Linked DNA regions of Homo sapiens: region 2 is linked to region 1. The links are contacts of gene promoters, found by promoter capture Hi-C in human tissues and cell types (Jung and others, 2019). All regions are on one chromosome and are shown on one strand. The core of a region is centred on a gene start or on the middle of the fragment in contact, and the rest is flanking DNA. Distances in the headings are between cores, read along the strand shown. Region 1 holds the start of NRBP2 (nuclear receptor binding protein 2). Region 2 has its middle 6.3 kb from the start of TOP1MT.

Region 1 (7,315 bases), core at 2,951-5,450:
AAGGATGCTTGGAGTAGGTTCAGGGCAGGCAGCAGGATGCAGGGGAAGGATCTGAGGGGACAGGGAGCCTCCCGGAAAAGGAGAGTGCCCAGCCTGTCCTATAACCCCCATGACCCCCACAAGGGGGTCAGCCTGGATCTGGTCTCTGGCAGCCAGGAGGAGAGCTGGGCTGTGGGGATGCAGGCCCTAAGAGAAGGAGGGGCACCTCTTATCTGGCTGTTAGAAGGTCTGAGGGATGGCACTGAGCAGCAGGAGAGGGGACTCACCTTTCTGGTCTCAGAGTCAAAGGGCTCTGGCGTCGGGGTCTTGGCCTTTTGGACCTCCTCCGGGGGTGGGGCCAGCACACGGGGCAGCCCCAGGGGTCGAGTGGCTGCAAAGTTCATCAGTGGGTAGATTCCATTCCTGGGGACACAACAGGGTGGCTGGGGGTTCAGGCCTGACAGCTGCCTGGCCCCCAACCTTACATCAGTTCTCACCTGACATCCTCCAGGAATTTGTCCAGCTCCATGAAGGAGACTTCCGAGTACCTGGCATGGAAGTGGGAGGCACATGAGGGGCTGGCCGGGGCGAGGGGAGGGGAGGTGCGGGGAGGGGAGGTGTGGGGAGGGGAGGCTTCTGGGTGCTGACTGCTCACCGCCACTGCAGCGGGGGCCTGCGGGGCCGGGGAAGCTCCGCCAAGACCGCGTGCAGGTCCATGGCCTTGGTCTTCTCCTCCACCACATTCTCAGGCATGAGGTCTGCGGCCACAAGAGCATCAAGGCGGTGTGCTCAGGCCGTGGGTCCTGCAGGGCCCCTTCCACGTCCCAACCTCCACCTCCCCAGCCACCCCCCGGGCCGGCCTGCTGCTCACACTGGTGCTGGATGAAGCAGTGGGCTGCCAGGAGCTTCAGCGAGTGCACCTCGAAGAGCACGCGGTGGAAGAGGAGGCTGTGGGCAGAGGGCCGGCGGGCAGGGTCCCGGGCCAGGCAGCAAAGGATGAACTCCTGGGGCACAGGGAGGAGAGGCTGGTGGTGTGCAAGGGCTCTCTGCTCTGGCCCCGCAGTTCGAGGAGAGGTGGCCCCTGAGTTCCCCATGTCCCTCCTCAGGGACACACAGGACATGCAGGGATGCCCATAGGGAGGAGTCCCAGCAGCAGCAGCCAGGCCAGGACCTGGTCCTCTGAGCTTGAGGACAGCTGGGTTCTGGGATTGGAGCACCATGCTCTGCTTCCCTCGACCCCCAAAAAATCGTGGGGAGAAGCCATGATCCTAAAGTCACACCTGCAAGCCTCCTACCCATGGCCTTTTGATCGGCTCAGCTCGGGCCCAACACTGGAGACGACCTTGATGGGTCCCCACTCTGTCCACATCCGTGCCCAGCCCGGCTCCAGCTCGCCACCAGCCCCGACCAGGCACCCCCATCTCCTGAGGCCATGGAGTTAAGTCTAGACTCCGAGCAGAGGGGGCTGTGGATGCAGCTTCCATCCCATACCTCTTTTTGCCTGCTTGGCACCCACCATGTCCCCCCACAAGCTGGAGCCTCATCACCTCCTGGAAGCTTAAAGTCAAGGACTTGGAGTGAAGCAGACCCAGGTGCAGATGTTGGCTCCACCACTCACTCTAAAGCCTTGGGCAAAGGACTCATCTCCTCTGAACCTTGGTTTCTTTATAAAACGGGCATGGTGATGGCAGCCACAGAGGGAGGGTCTCTCTTGCCTTCTTGTCCTTAGAATGTGCTGACCCCTTAGGGCCTTCAGGCCTGGAACCAGTATGTGCTCCCACTGAGGTCCTCTTTGGGAGGGGTGCAGTCAGCTGGTATACCCCTCAACTGCACAAACTGTGATGTTCTCCCAGGTCTGCCTGGAGCACCTTGCTAGCCCTAGCTGAGCACGGTGAGCCAGCTGGGGAGGGGCAGGGCAAGCTGCTTACCCGCATGTTGGGGTCACTCAGCGAGTGCCTGGCGCGAGCAATGGCCTCCTCTGTGACCCGGGTGTCCCCATTGGTCTGGATTTCCAGTACAGCCATCTGGGGCACAGAGCCAGGTCAGGCATGGGGAAGGGACCACACAGGTGAGCCAGGCAGGGCACAGTTAGGAGGAGGGCAGAGCACAAGGTGGAGGGCGGGGGCAGTACCTCCAGCGCACACATCCCAAAGGAGAAGATGTCCACAGCGGTCCCATCGGCCACCTCTGAACAGAAGAGAGCACAGGACACGTAGGAGAGAAGCGCAGGGTAGGCACGGGGCACCCGGACCCAGCACCACTCACCTCCATACTCTGGGGGGAAGAAGTGCAGGTTCCGAAGTTCCTCTCGCTCAGCGCGGATGGGGCTTCGGAGATCATCTGGAAGTGCTGTGGGAGGGCGCAGAGCTGAGCGGGCGGGGACCTCTCCAGGACCCCGTCCCCCCAAAGTCCGCACTTACCATTGGAGAAGATTCGGTGCCACACTGCCAAGGGGCGGGAGAAAGAGTGGAGTTAGCTGCTGGGGCATCAGAACTCCTCTGCCCTTGGCTCCAGGCACCTTCCCCTGCCCCGTTCCCCCACCCAGCCCTGCCCCGCCAGCACCGGAGCCGATCTTGATGAGGCCGTTGTGCTGAATGAAGATGGTGTCGCTGGTCAGGTTCCCGTGGATGATTGGGGGGCTGCAGGCGTGCAGGAAGCTGCAGACGTTGGGGAGGGGAGAGTAGGAGGAGCCGGTCAGGAGGCTCTGGAGAGATGGGGGCTCGGTGGCGCCGCGCCCAGGCCAGCCCAGGCCCTCACCTGAGCGCAGACAGGATCTGCGTGCACCAGCGCTTCCAGGCCTGGCGGCGGACGCACGACTCCGTCGGTCGGGTGGGCGCAGGAGAGGCGGCTGGGCCTGCGGAGCCCGCCCCGCATCCTCGCCCAGCCCCTGTCCGAGGCCGCCGGGCACCCCCTCACCATCCCAGTCCCCGAGGCTGCCCCAACCCCGTCCTGTCCCCGTGGCTGCCCCAGCCCGCTCCCCATACCCGGGCGTTCATGGCCTTGTGGTTCTTCTTGGTCTTTTTGAGGAATTGCTTGAGGCTGCCTGATGACACGTACTCTGTGATGAAGATGACCTGCACGGTGCGAGCTCAGGATTTCCACCAGCTGCGGGTTCGTCCCCATGCCCGCCCCACCTAGCTGTGGTCTCTGCCTGCCCGGGGCCTTGCCCGTGCTCACCCTCGCGCAGGCCTCAGAGGTATCCAGCCAGTACTTGTGCAACTTCACGATGTTCGGGTGGTCCACCAGCACCAGCTGCTCGAACACGGTCTGGATCTTCTCCTGGGGAGGGAGGGTGGTCGCTGGGTGGTCAGCAGGTGGTCACCCAAGCAGGATGAGGAGGGGGCAGCGGTCTCACCTCGTGCGCCGCGAAGGCCTTCCTGTCTCCGAAGTGGAGCTCGTTCCACACCACCTCTACCCCCTCCTCCGTGTCCATGGCTAGGAAGGTGCTCTGAAGCCCTGGCATGTTCCCTTGGTTTACCTGGGGGTGAATAAAGGGTTATGTGTGCCCTGGTGTGTGTCAGGGTTGTGGGTGAGGATTTGGTCCCTGTCCACACCTTTCCAGTGGGCCCAAGCGTGGGCTGCAGGCCCTGAGCCACTCTGCGGGAAGGTGGGGCTTGGAGGGTAGCTGCCCCCAGGAGCCAAGGGCTCCTATCCAAGGGCTGGGCTAAGGGGATTTGGAGCAGGTTTCAGGGGGTCGAGGGGGATCCCCAGGAAGCTAGCGGCTGAGTCCAGAGGCATGGGGAGGTGGTCCTGGGAGGAGACTGGCCCTCAGGGAGTCCCAGGGCGAGCGCCAGGCCAAAGGGGTCCAGGGGTGGCTGATTCGCGGGCCGCGAGGGGCCGCGGAGAGGTTTCCAGCCGCCGCGCTCTCCCAGCGCCCCCACGCCCCGCGCAGCCTCCAGGCCCCTCCCGCTCTGGGAGGGCGGTGTCACCCCGTGCCCCAACCCCCGCGCCCACCTGCTCCCGTCGCTTTTGCCAGCGACCACACGGGCTTTCCTCCAGGATGTCGCTCTCGTCCTCGCTCTCGTCCTCCCGCTCCCGCTCCCGTTCCCGGGCCCGCCTCGGCGCCGGCTCCGGGGCCGCCATGGTTCGGCCAGCCCAGGCCACCGCCCTCTGCGCGATCCGCCGCCGGCGCAGCCTCTCCCGGCCCGCCCTGGCCTCGCGCCCAGCAGCCCAGCCTAGAGCCGCCGCGGCAGCCTAGAGCCCCAGCCCCGGCTCTGGGAATTGGGAGGCGCGGGCGCGCGGCGGACGGGCGGGGCCCGGGGGCGGAGCCGGCGCGCACCTCCCGAGCCGCCTGTGCCTGCCGGAGCCAGAGCAGAGCTTCCCCGAGAGCTGCCGAGCCCGGGCCGCGCCCAGGCCCCGCCCCCCCGGAGGCCCCGCCCCGCGAAGCCCCGCCCCAGTCCCTGTTTCCTCCTCGTCTCCCAGGCCTGCTCCGCGAAGCCCCTCCCCAGGCCCTGTCCCCTCCTCGTCCTCCAAGCCTCCTTCGCGAAGCCCCGCCCCAGGACCCGCCCCACCCCCGCGAATCCCCGCCCCGTTTTAGTCCCCGCCCCCGCCCGTTCCCAGGGTCCTCCGCGAAGCCCCACCCCAGGCCCCGCCTCACCTCCTCGAAGCCCCGCCCCTATGAGGCCCCGCCCCGCGCAGAGGAACCGCCCCCAAATCCCCGCCCCCTCGGAGGCCCCGCCCTGCGGACACCTGGAGCCCGGAGCGCCCACTTCTCTCGCGGTTGCTCCCCTAGGATCTGGGGGAAGACCCGGGGCATCTGGGGGCCCCCAAGCCCACGGCACCCTCCAGCTGCAGAAGACCCCGCGGGCTCGAAAGCGGGACCCGCTCTCCTGGCCACGCACTCATTCCCCGGCCGACCCCCAAGGGACAGGTCGAAGGGGCACCGAGGGCGGGGGAAAGGCCCACCAGCAGGCTGACCCAGGCTGACTTTGATCGGTGACCACGAATCTCTCCCTGGCCCGCCCACCAGTGCCTCCTCCCGCCCACAAGCCCATCTTCTCACTTTCCAGGATGGCGATTTTCTCTTTTCTCCTCAAACGCGCATTTCCTTTCCGCGGCTGGCTCCCATGGGACAGTGGAACCATGAGGGGGGAGCCCACCCGGCTCACACGACCTCTCCCTCCGGAGGCCGCTCTAAGCACACCCTCCAGCCACGCCGACCACCGGGGCTGTCCCCGATTCTCACCTAAAACCCCCTTCAGCCCACAGCCCCCACGGCCTTCCTGTGGTCTCCTCCCTCCTTCACGGCGGGTCCTCATCCTTTACCTTCTCTCTCTGGAGCCCAAATTGGAACTCCGCTCCTCCCCTCCGCGCAGCTCCATGCACTGGCCCTTTGGGACGCCTCTTTCTTTCTTTGGCAGAGGTGCATCTGGCCCTGCTGCGTCCCCTGTGGTCTCTCTTTTCTGACCAGCCTTGGTCACCAGGCACCTTGTGTGTGGTTTCCACCAATGCCAGGTGATCCTGCTGAGGCCCTCTGCAGTAAAGGTTTGGGGTGTTCAAATCCTCCACCCTGAAACTGGCCCTGACCAGCTCCTGGGAGACACCCTCTAAGCCCTTGGAATGTTCTGCCTGATTTGAATGTCTGTGTTTACCTCGGCCACACCAGATTCTATGCTAAGCTTGTCCAACCCGCAGCCCAGAGGGTGCATTCGGCCAAGGACAGCTTTGAATATGGCCCAACACAAATTCATAAACTTTCTTATTGAGATTTTTTTTAAAGCTCATCAGCTGTTGTTAGTGTTAAGTGTATTTTATTTAAGGGTATTGCCCAGGACAATTCTTCCAATGTGTGCCAGGAAAGCCCACAGATTGGACACCCCTGGTCTGTGCTAACAATATGGTCTACGGGGGGACCTTGGGCCATGTGGCATCAGCCTGACCTCTGCAGGGGCTGGAGGCCAAAGTCAGCCACCTGGGAGGTCAGCCATGCCTGTGTGACCAACCCAATAAAAACCCTGGACACTGAGGTACGGAGGGCTTCCCTGGCTGCTGACATGCTGTGCTCATTGTCACACCTCAGTGCTGGGAGGTTGAGCACTGTCCCCATGCCTGCAGTGGGTGGGGACACCTGCAGACCCGTGCTGGTCTGTCCTGGGTTCTGTTCTGTGAGTCCTTGCCACTGCTGATTTTAACGCATCCATTGCTGTAATAAATAGTACCCTTTCCGAGTTCTGTGAGTCCTTCTAGTGAACCATTGAACTTGAGGGTGGTTTTGGGGAGCCCCCCCAGTGGTCCCTTCTCACTTGGTATGAGGGCCTAAACATGAAGGCCCAGTAATTGGTCCCATTACCCTACCTCACGTCAGCTGCCTTCTTCAGCTGAGCCCACCCCAAGTACACGGCCCTGTGCCATCGGACATGACAGGCACTTCCCCTCAGGGTCTCTGCCCTGGTTATACCTTTGCCCGGAACGCCCTTCCCAAACATCCTCTGAGGTCACTTCCTGAGAGGCCTGTCCTGACCACGAATCCTGACATCACAGTCCCCACACCCTTTCGCCTGCTTGACTTGACTTTTCCCGGAGTATTCACCCCACCTGACTTGCATCTGGGTTTTTCTCATCTCTCTTCTTCACTGTCTGTGTCCCTGTTGCGATTCGAGCTCCCGCAGGGCAGGAGTGTCTGCTCGTTGTCCCTGCTCTTTCTCTGGTGCGAGGACGGTACCCGGCACACAGCAGGCCCTCAGCAAACACTTGTTGAATGGATCTGTGGGTGGGCAGGGGTGCGTTTTGGCGGGTGTGGTCCAGAGAAGCCCCTAAGGAGGTAAGCCTTGAGCAGAAGAATCTCAATGAATTTCCTCCCCTTTCTCCGCCCCCATAACCAGACACACATGTTCTGTGGTAGGTCACATAGTGTCCCCCAAAAGTCTACATCCTGATCCCCAGTACCTAGGAGCACAGCCTTATTTGAAAAAAAAAAAATGGTCTTTGCAGATGTAAATAAGTTTAGGATCTTGAGATGCTGGGGTGGGCCCTAAATCCAATGTTTGATGTCCTTATCAGAGAAAGAAAAGGGATACTTGGGGTGCAGAGAAATAAGGTAGACAGTCACATGAACATGGAGGCCAGTGTTGGAGGGATGTACCCACAGGTCAAGGCGTGCCTGGGACTCGAGGACACGAGCTGTTCCAGTATAATAAAATATATAAAATAAGAATAGTTGTACTGATATAGATCTTAGATATGATTATATATGAATATCATTAATCATTAGTTTGTAGCAATTACTCTTTATTCCAATATTATAATAATCCTCACTCTATAATCATAGCCTAGGAAAAACCAGGCCATACAGAGATAGGAGCTAAGGGGACATAGTGAGGAGTAACCAGAAGACAAG
Region 2 (7,841 bases), core at 1,542-4,041, 500 kb before region 1:
ACTAAAAAAATTAGCCTGGCATGATAGCAGGCGCCTGTAGTCCCAGCTATTTGGGAGGCTGAGGCAGGAGAATGGCGTGAACCCAGGAGGCAGAGCTTGCAGTGAGCCGAGATCACGCTACTACACTCCAGCGTGGGCAACAGAGCAAGACTCCGTCTCAAAAAAAAAGACGGCAATACTCCCCAAACTGATCCAAAAACTCAATACAATCCCCATCTAAATTCCAGCTGGCGTTTTTACAGAAATTGACAACCTGATCCTAAAATTCACAGGGAAATACAAGGGACCCAGAATAGCCAAAACAATGTTTGAAAAAGAATAACAAAGTTGGAGGATTCATACTTGCTGATTTCAAAACTTCAAAACTGGCCCAGGGAACACAGCAAGACCCCATCTGTACTAAAGATTTTTAAATTAGCCAGGCATGATGGTGTACACCTGTAGTAAGGGAGGAGACCACCTCTCATATTGTCTTCTGCCTAATTTCTGCCTCAAAGAAAAGAAAAAGTAGGAGTTAAAGAAAAGGCAGAAGTGAAATTCAATAGTCAAACAGCCCGGCGCCACACCCCAGGCCTGGTAGTTAAAGATCGGCCCGGACCTAATCGCTTCTGTTATCTACAGATTCCAGACTTCTTATGAGGAAGCATTGCGTAACTCCCTGTTTGGTTCTGTTCTGATCACCGGTGCATGCGGCCCCAGTTACGTAGCCCCCACTTGCACAATGTATCACGGCCCTTTCACATGGACCCCTTAGAGTTGTAAGCCCTTAAAAGGGACAGGAATCTGGACCTCGGGGAGCCCGGATCTTGAGAGGCGATTCTACTGATGCTCCCAGCTGATTAAAACCTCTTATTCCCTAAAACCGGTGTCCGAGAGGTTTTGTCTGCAACGTGTCCTGCTACAGTAGTCCTAGCTACTCAGGGGGCTGAGTGGGAGGATTGCTTGAACCCAGGAGTTCAAGACTGCAGTGAGCTATGATCAGGCTACTGCACTCCAGCCTGAACAACAGGCTCCATCTCTTAAAAAAAAATTTTTTTTTTGGCTGGGCTTGGTGGCTCACGCCTGTAATCTCAGCACTTTGGGAGGCCAAGGCGGGCGGATCACCTGAGGTCGGGAGTTCAGGACCAGCCTGACCAACATGGAGAAACCCCGTCTCTACTAAAAATTCAAAATTAGCTAGGCGTGGTGGCTCATGCCTGTAATCCCAGCTACTCGGGAGGCTGAAACAGGAGAATCACTTGAACCCGGGAGGTGGAGGCTGTGGTGAGCTGAGATCGCACCATTGCACTCCAGCCTGGGCAACAAAATGAGACTCCGTCTCAAAAAAAAAAAAATGTTAATTTTAAAAAGGGGGATAAATAATCTAAATAGACATTTCTCCAAAGATGAGATATAAAAGGCCAACAATCCTGTAAAAAGATGCTCAAAATCATCAGCCATGGGAGAAATGCAAATCCAACCCACAGTGAGGTCACCTCACACCTGGGTGGCTGCAGTCAACATGCTGGGGAGGGCGTGGAAAAGTGGCACCCACTGCACAAGGCCAGAGACACAGTTGGGGAGTCTGGGCCTGCAGACCAGAAGGGGTTTCTATGAACTGTCTGCCAATATTCCTGGGGTTGGCGGCCTCCTCCCCTTGTGCCCTCTTCTTCCCCAGGCCACTCAGGGGTTGCCCAAGGGAGCGGGGACAGGGCTTCACGCACTCTTCCTCACAGCAGGTAGGAGGACCCCTGTTTTGCATGAGAGAAACTAGGCTTAGAAAATTTAAAGAATTTCCCCAGAATCAAACAGGTGCTGAATGCAGGAGCTGATACCTATAAAGACGTTTCCCACCCAGAAGCCGGAGCTCCAAGGCTATGCAGGGACTGCCCAGGTGGGAGGCGGCGCCGCCCAGCAGACACAGCTGCGAGCAGTGGTGGAGTTTACCCCATCCAGAAGCCACACTGCAAAAGAAACAGTGACTTTGACCTTAACAATATACTTAATTTCAACTATTTCAACCAAAATACTGTCATTCAACATAATATGCTAATGCGATGGTATGCATCGTTCTTCTCAAAGCAGGCGTGCGTATCACACCCCCAGCACGTCTCCACTGGGAGAGCTGCGCAGCTCGTGGCTGCGTACAGGACACAGCAGGGGTGACGGCTACAACTGCAGTGTGGCCCACTTGTGGCCATGTGACCTTGGCCCGGTTACTTAACCTTTTTGTACCTCAGTTTCCTCATCTGAAAAATGGACATAGCAGTACCTACTTCATAGAGGACTGACCAAAAGCAATGCCAGACACACAGCAAACACTCACTTACTGCTGGCTGCTCCCAGTACCCTACAACCCACAGCTCAAAGCTGCCGATGCAAGAGGGCACTCTGGGGGGCACCCAGGCTCCCTGGCAACCTACAGTGGGCAGGCAAAGGCCAGCACTGTAGCATTCCCACATTCCCAGCACTGGTCTACACAGCACTCCCCGCCTCCCCCACCAGGGACAGGGAGGGGAAGTGGGCCTGTGCTGGTCTAAACTGCATTCCCCTGCTCCCAGCGCTGATCTACACAGCATTCCACCCCTGCCAGCACTGGTCTACACAGCATTCCCCCCGTCCCAGCACTGGTCTACACAGCATTCCCCCACTCCCAGCACTGGTCTACACAGCATTCCCCCCGTCCCAGCACTGGTCTACACAGCATTACCCCACTCCCAGCACTGGTCTACACAGCATTCCCCCGTCCCAGCACTGGTCTACACAGCATTCCCCCACTCCCAGCACTGGTCTACACAGCATTCCCCCGTCCCAGCACTGGTCTACACAGCATTCCCCCGTCCCAGCACTGGTCTACACAGCATTCCCCCACTCCCAGCACTGGTCTACACAGCATTCCCCCACTCCCAGCACTGGTCTACACAGCATTCCCCCACTCCCAGCACTGGTCTACACAGCATTCCCCCACTCCCAGCACTGGTCTACACAGCATTCCCCCCCTCCCAGCACTGGTCTACACAGCATTCCCACACTCCCAGCACTGGTCTACACAGCATTCCCCCCTCCCAGCACCGGTCTGCACAGCATTCCCCCCCTCCCAGCACTGGTCTACACAGCATTCCCACCACCCCGTCAGGACATGGAGGGAGAGAAGGGGTGGGGTAGGGTACACACCATTTCCACCTGCTGCCTTCGGCCTTCTCCCACCCTTTCTGGCTCTCCTCCTGTGGCTTAGCTGCCTCCTGGCCATCTTTCTTCTCTCCCTCTGGACACCCCAGCATCAACTGGCTCCCCCTCCTTCCACTTCTCTCTGCTTCTGGCTGGCTTCCGGCTGCCCTGAGCTTTCTCTTCTTGGGGCTTCTTCACCAGGCCCCCCACCTCCCAGTCACCCTTTGCCCCAGGGCAATGGCGAGGCCACGCCGCTGGCTGTGGTGCCCCGTCCAGCTCACTCCCACACTGCACTTCTCTGTCTTCCTCCAGGTCCTGAGCTTTTCATTTCTTTGGTTTTCGAGTCCCCTCTTCCCCAGCTTTGTCTGTCTCCCTCTTCTTTTCTTTTCTGGAAACCAAGGCCTCCTGTCCCACTTTTGTGCCACTACCTAATTTGTCACTTTCTTCTTTCTTGGTTTTTCCCACCCACACTTCTTTTACATCCTCGTCCTCGTTCTGTGCTTGTCTCCTGGCCCGTAACTCTCCTTTCTGCTCAGTGTGGCCCTGGCTCGTCCTCCGTGCTGGGGTGGGCACCATGCCCTCACTGTGCACCTGCTCCTGGCCACGCTTCGCACCTCTTCTGTGGGAACTGCTCTGTCTATCCCACTGCCCAGAGCGCGCTCCTCCCCAGCTCCCACGGCGGCCCCTGCACTCTTCCGCTCCCCACAGCTGAGGGTCTCAGGCTTGCCCCTAGCGTCCCCGCCACCCTCTTCTCGTGCTGCCGCCCCAGTGCATCTCCCCACACGTTTGTCCTGAAGCCCTTTCTCCCCTTTCTCTTCGGATATTCTTTTTTTTTTCTCAGTTTGTGCCTCTCTTCCACACAGCCCTTGCCCCGGCCAGTGTCTGTGAGCTCACAGTCCAGGTCCTCTTCCAGAGCCCCCTTCCGGCTGGGCACCGCCTGCAGGGCCATGCCCTTCTATCTCTTCTCTTGGGTGTCAGGACCCCGGGCACATCCACCAAGGGCCATCTTCATCTTGTCTGCAGGAACCTCCGTGTGGCCTTGGGACCTTGCCCAGAACAGAGAGCACACACCATGAGAGGGGCCACAGGGCCACAAACATACCCACCCGGAGACCCCAGAGGAGGAGGGAAGGTTCACCTTCCCCACCCCAGCAATGGCTGCCCTCCATGGGCCTAACAGATGCTTTTAACTCAGCTTTGGAAAATGGCCTCTTGATCTCAGCCCTTGTGGCCTCTGTCAGGAGCAGAAACCAAGGGCAATGAACAAAGGAGCCAGGGGTCAGCTTGGGGCTGCTCCCAACTCCGGAGCAGGTGCAGGCCGCAACAGGCCATACTGCCAGCGTCCACCCTGACCCAGACACAAAACACCAGAAAGGGAAGGTCACAGAGCACTATCCCGACACCACTGCCCCATCTAGTGCTTCCTTCTTCCTTCTTCTTCCTCTTCTTCCTCCTCCTCCTCCTTCCTCTTTCTCCTCCCCCTTCTTCTTCTTCTTATTAGCGACAGAGTCTCACTCTGTTATTATTATTATTATTGAGACAGAGTCTCGCTCTGTTATTATTATTATTAGAGACAGAGTCTCGCTGTTATTATTATTATTAGAGACAGAGTCTCGCTCTGTTATTATATTAGAGACAGAGTCTCGCTGTTATTATTATTATTAGAGACAGAGTCTCGCTCTGTTATTATTATTATTAGAGTCTCGCTCTGTTATTATTATTAGAGACACAGTCTCGCTCTGTTATTATTATTATTATTAGAGACAGAGTCTCGCTCTGTTATTATTAGAGACAGTCTCGCTGTTATTATTATTATTAGAGACAGAGTCTCGCTCTATTATTATTATTATTAGAGACAGAGTCTCGCTCTGTTATTATTATTATTAGAGACAGAGTCTCGCTGTTATTATTATTATTATTAGAGACAGAGTCTCGCTGTTATTATTATTATTAGAGACAGAGTCTCGCTCTGTTATTATTATTAGAGACAGAGCCTCGCTGTTATTATTATTATTATTAGAGACAGAGTCTCGCTCTGTTATTATTATTATTATTAGAGACAGAGTCTCGCTCTGTTATTATTATTATTATTAGAGACAGAGTCTCGCTGTTATTATTATTATTATTAGAGACAGAGTCTCGCTCTGTTATTATTATTATTATTAGAGACAGAGTCTCGCTCTGTTATTATTATTATTAGAGACAGAGTCTCGCTGTTATTATTATTATTATTAGAGACAGTCTCGCTCTATTATTATTATTATTATTAGAGACAGTCTCGCTCTATTATTATTATTATTATTAGAGACAGAGTCTCGCTGTTATTATTATTATTAGAGACAGAGTCTCGCTCTGTTATTATTATTAGAGACAGAGTCTTGCTCTATTATTATTATTATTATTATTATTAGAGACAGAGTCTCGCTCTGTCACCCAGGCTGGAGTGCAGTGGCGTGATCTCGGCTCACTGCAACCTCTGCCTCCCGGGTTCAAGCGATTCTCCTGCCTCAGCCTCCCGACCACCACACCCGGCTAATTTTGTATTTTTAGTAGAGAGGGGGTTTCATCATGTTGGACAGGCTGGTCTCAAATTCCTGACCTCAGGTGACCCACCCACCTCCGCCTCCCAAAGTGCTAGGATTATAGGCATGAGCCACCACGCCTGGCCTGCTAACTTATTTCACCATAAAATCTTAGAAGAAAATCAGACACTAAGTTCATTTGTGTTGTCATATCTGCAAGAATAAGCATTCATCAGGCATGAGTGCCTGGGAAGTTGCTTATCAGAATCATGTTCACACATTCATTTCCTATTTAAGATGCCGACTTGGCCTTTTTTCTTGGGTGGCTTTTCATGGTGATTAGTCTTCACTGGCGTGGTGATCTGTGCAAATCTAGAATTCAAATGTATACATAAACATGCAGCTCTGCGGCTCATTTAGGGTTGCCATTCTAACAACAGAGAGTCAGAACAACCTCATGGAAGCCTCCCAAGCTCTTCATGACCCTTTTCTCATTTTTCAAAAGTACACCTGGCAAAGCTGCTGGTGACCCACGTGCTGGGCATCAAGGAACCTCTGACTCTGAGCACAGCACCAGCTGGCGGTGGGAAGTCCCGCCCGAGGCCAGAAGCTGCGAACACATCTCAGGCCCCTCCCGGCCTCGGGAAGAGTGGGCAGGCAGTAAAAGGCAGCTCCCAGGTCCCCTCTGGGACCATCTCTGTCCCCACCAACACCACAGCAGTTCAGAGATCATCAATTTGGAAAAACAGTCTTTCCAAAGTAACTTTTGAAGAAGAAGTGTGAGAAAATATATTCAGAAACAAAACCCACATTGAACAGAGAGAGGAACAGACACTTCGCTTAAGTGGGAATGGCACGGGGCCCACCTCGGGCTGCACGCTGGGTCAGAGGCGCCATCCCTGGGAACCCCGAGGAGGTTATGGGGGCACCAGGCACCCCGGTCTGAACGCTCCCACTCATCGGCTGACTGGCCACCCTCACCCACACCTCACACTATGGCTGCTCTCACTCCACCATCTGACCATCACAACACACGCCCACATCCATGCAGACTGGAGACACAGTGAAACACGCGTCTTGCAAGGAAAAACCTGTGAGATTTCTGAAAATCATGTTAGAGCCCTACTGAGGCAGAGGCCTGGGCCAGCCGAGAAAGGTGAGAGGAGGCCCTGTTGTAACACAGCTGGAAAGCAGGATTCATAGATGGATTTCATGTGGAATCTAGGCCCTCAAGGATGGGGCCCTCAAAGATGACACCAAGGTCTGTGCTTGAGAAGACAGAAGGAGCCGCTTCACCGAAACGAGAGGACTAGGGAGGGAAGGGCAGCAGACACCCACGGTCCTCTCAGGATGTGCTGACTGCAGAGGCCTAGAGTCCCACAGGGAAGCCGTGGGAGGCCCCCTCTGCCCCAGCCCAGCTCAGCCCTCCTGCTTGAGGAAGAAGGAGTGGCGGGACACCAGAGGGACAGGCTAGGAAGCACTCAGTAGCAGTGGCAGGAGCTCAGGAGGCTTTGGGCTGGCCCTGAGACACCACCACCCACTGGCCAGCAGCAGCTGGTCCTCCAGGTCTCCGTGACTCCCCCAGCCCCATGCCCACCCAGGATACAAAGGCAAGCCTCCCCACTCCCCAGCCACTCCCTTACTCAGTGAGGACCCAGGGCTGCTCACTGTGCCACCCGCCCGCCGCGCAGCACCATTCCCCAGCTACAGGGACAGCTGATGGTCACACAGACCCCACAGCGATCTCTGTCACTCCCAGACGCCCCCTCCCCAGTAACCCCTGTTGTGGGGGTGTAGACGGAGAGGCGCAGACACTGTCCTGTCAACAAGCCAGGCTCCATGTTGTCCGTAAGTCCAGGGCCCAGCACCTAAGGGTGATTAACTGGCAAGGACACCAAACAGCGGAGGAGGAGGGACCTCAGCTGAGCGAGATGAGCGACAGTGAACAAGGCCAGGCAGGAGACAGAATGGATGGGCGTCAAGGGAGGAGCCACCCAGCACCTGGAGAGCAGCTGTGGTCACAGGCACGAATTCATCACAGCCACAGTCATCAGCACGGGCTGCAGTCTGGGGTAGAAAAATCAGAAGGAAGGAAACGTTAAAGTTTTAAGCAATAAGAGACCCAGGGGCCGTGTTAAAAGGTAACTCATTCTCTACCTCATCCCAACTCAA

Evidence for each region. Contacts are between HindIII fragments. The study calls those that stand out against the background at their distance.
Region 2: a fragment that was not itself captured here is called in contact with the fragment with the promoter of NRBP2 in region 1 in 2 of the 25 tissues and cell types used here (dorsolateral prefrontal cortex and spleen).

What each region holds. Positions count from the first base shown.
Region 1 is chr8:143,836,773-143,844,087 of GRCh38, forward strand. It overlaps NRBP2 (nuclear receptor binding protein 2), which reads right to left and starts at 4,201. Exons shown (of 18, transcript NM_178564.4): 1 at 3,934-4,201; 2 at 3,335-3,457; 3 at 3,157-3,258; 4 at 2,964-3,053; 5 at 2,737-2,777; 6 at 2,542-2,636; 7 at 2,400-2,423; 8 at 2,245-2,328; 9 at 2,111-2,166; 10 at 1,908-2,003; 11 at 851-983; 12 at 635-737; 13 at 477-527; 14 at 267-402. The coding sequence starts at 4,062. MIR6845 (microRNA 6845) reads right to left here and starts at 1,044; the gene lies at 984-1,044. RefSeq lists enhancers at 49-776, 4,088-4,818, 4,819-5,548 and a silencer at 4,103-4,662. The HindIII fragment of the contact is 10,207 bases long and covers 548-7,315 here.
Region 2 is chr8:143,337,246-143,345,086 of GRCh38, forward strand. It overlaps a transcript of TOP1MT not described here. Among named protein-coding and RNA genes, the nearest start is that of TOP1MT, 6.3 kb to the left of the region's middle. RefSeq lists an enhancer at 1,892-2,629. The HindIII fragment of the contact is 8,640 bases long and covers 1-7,111 here.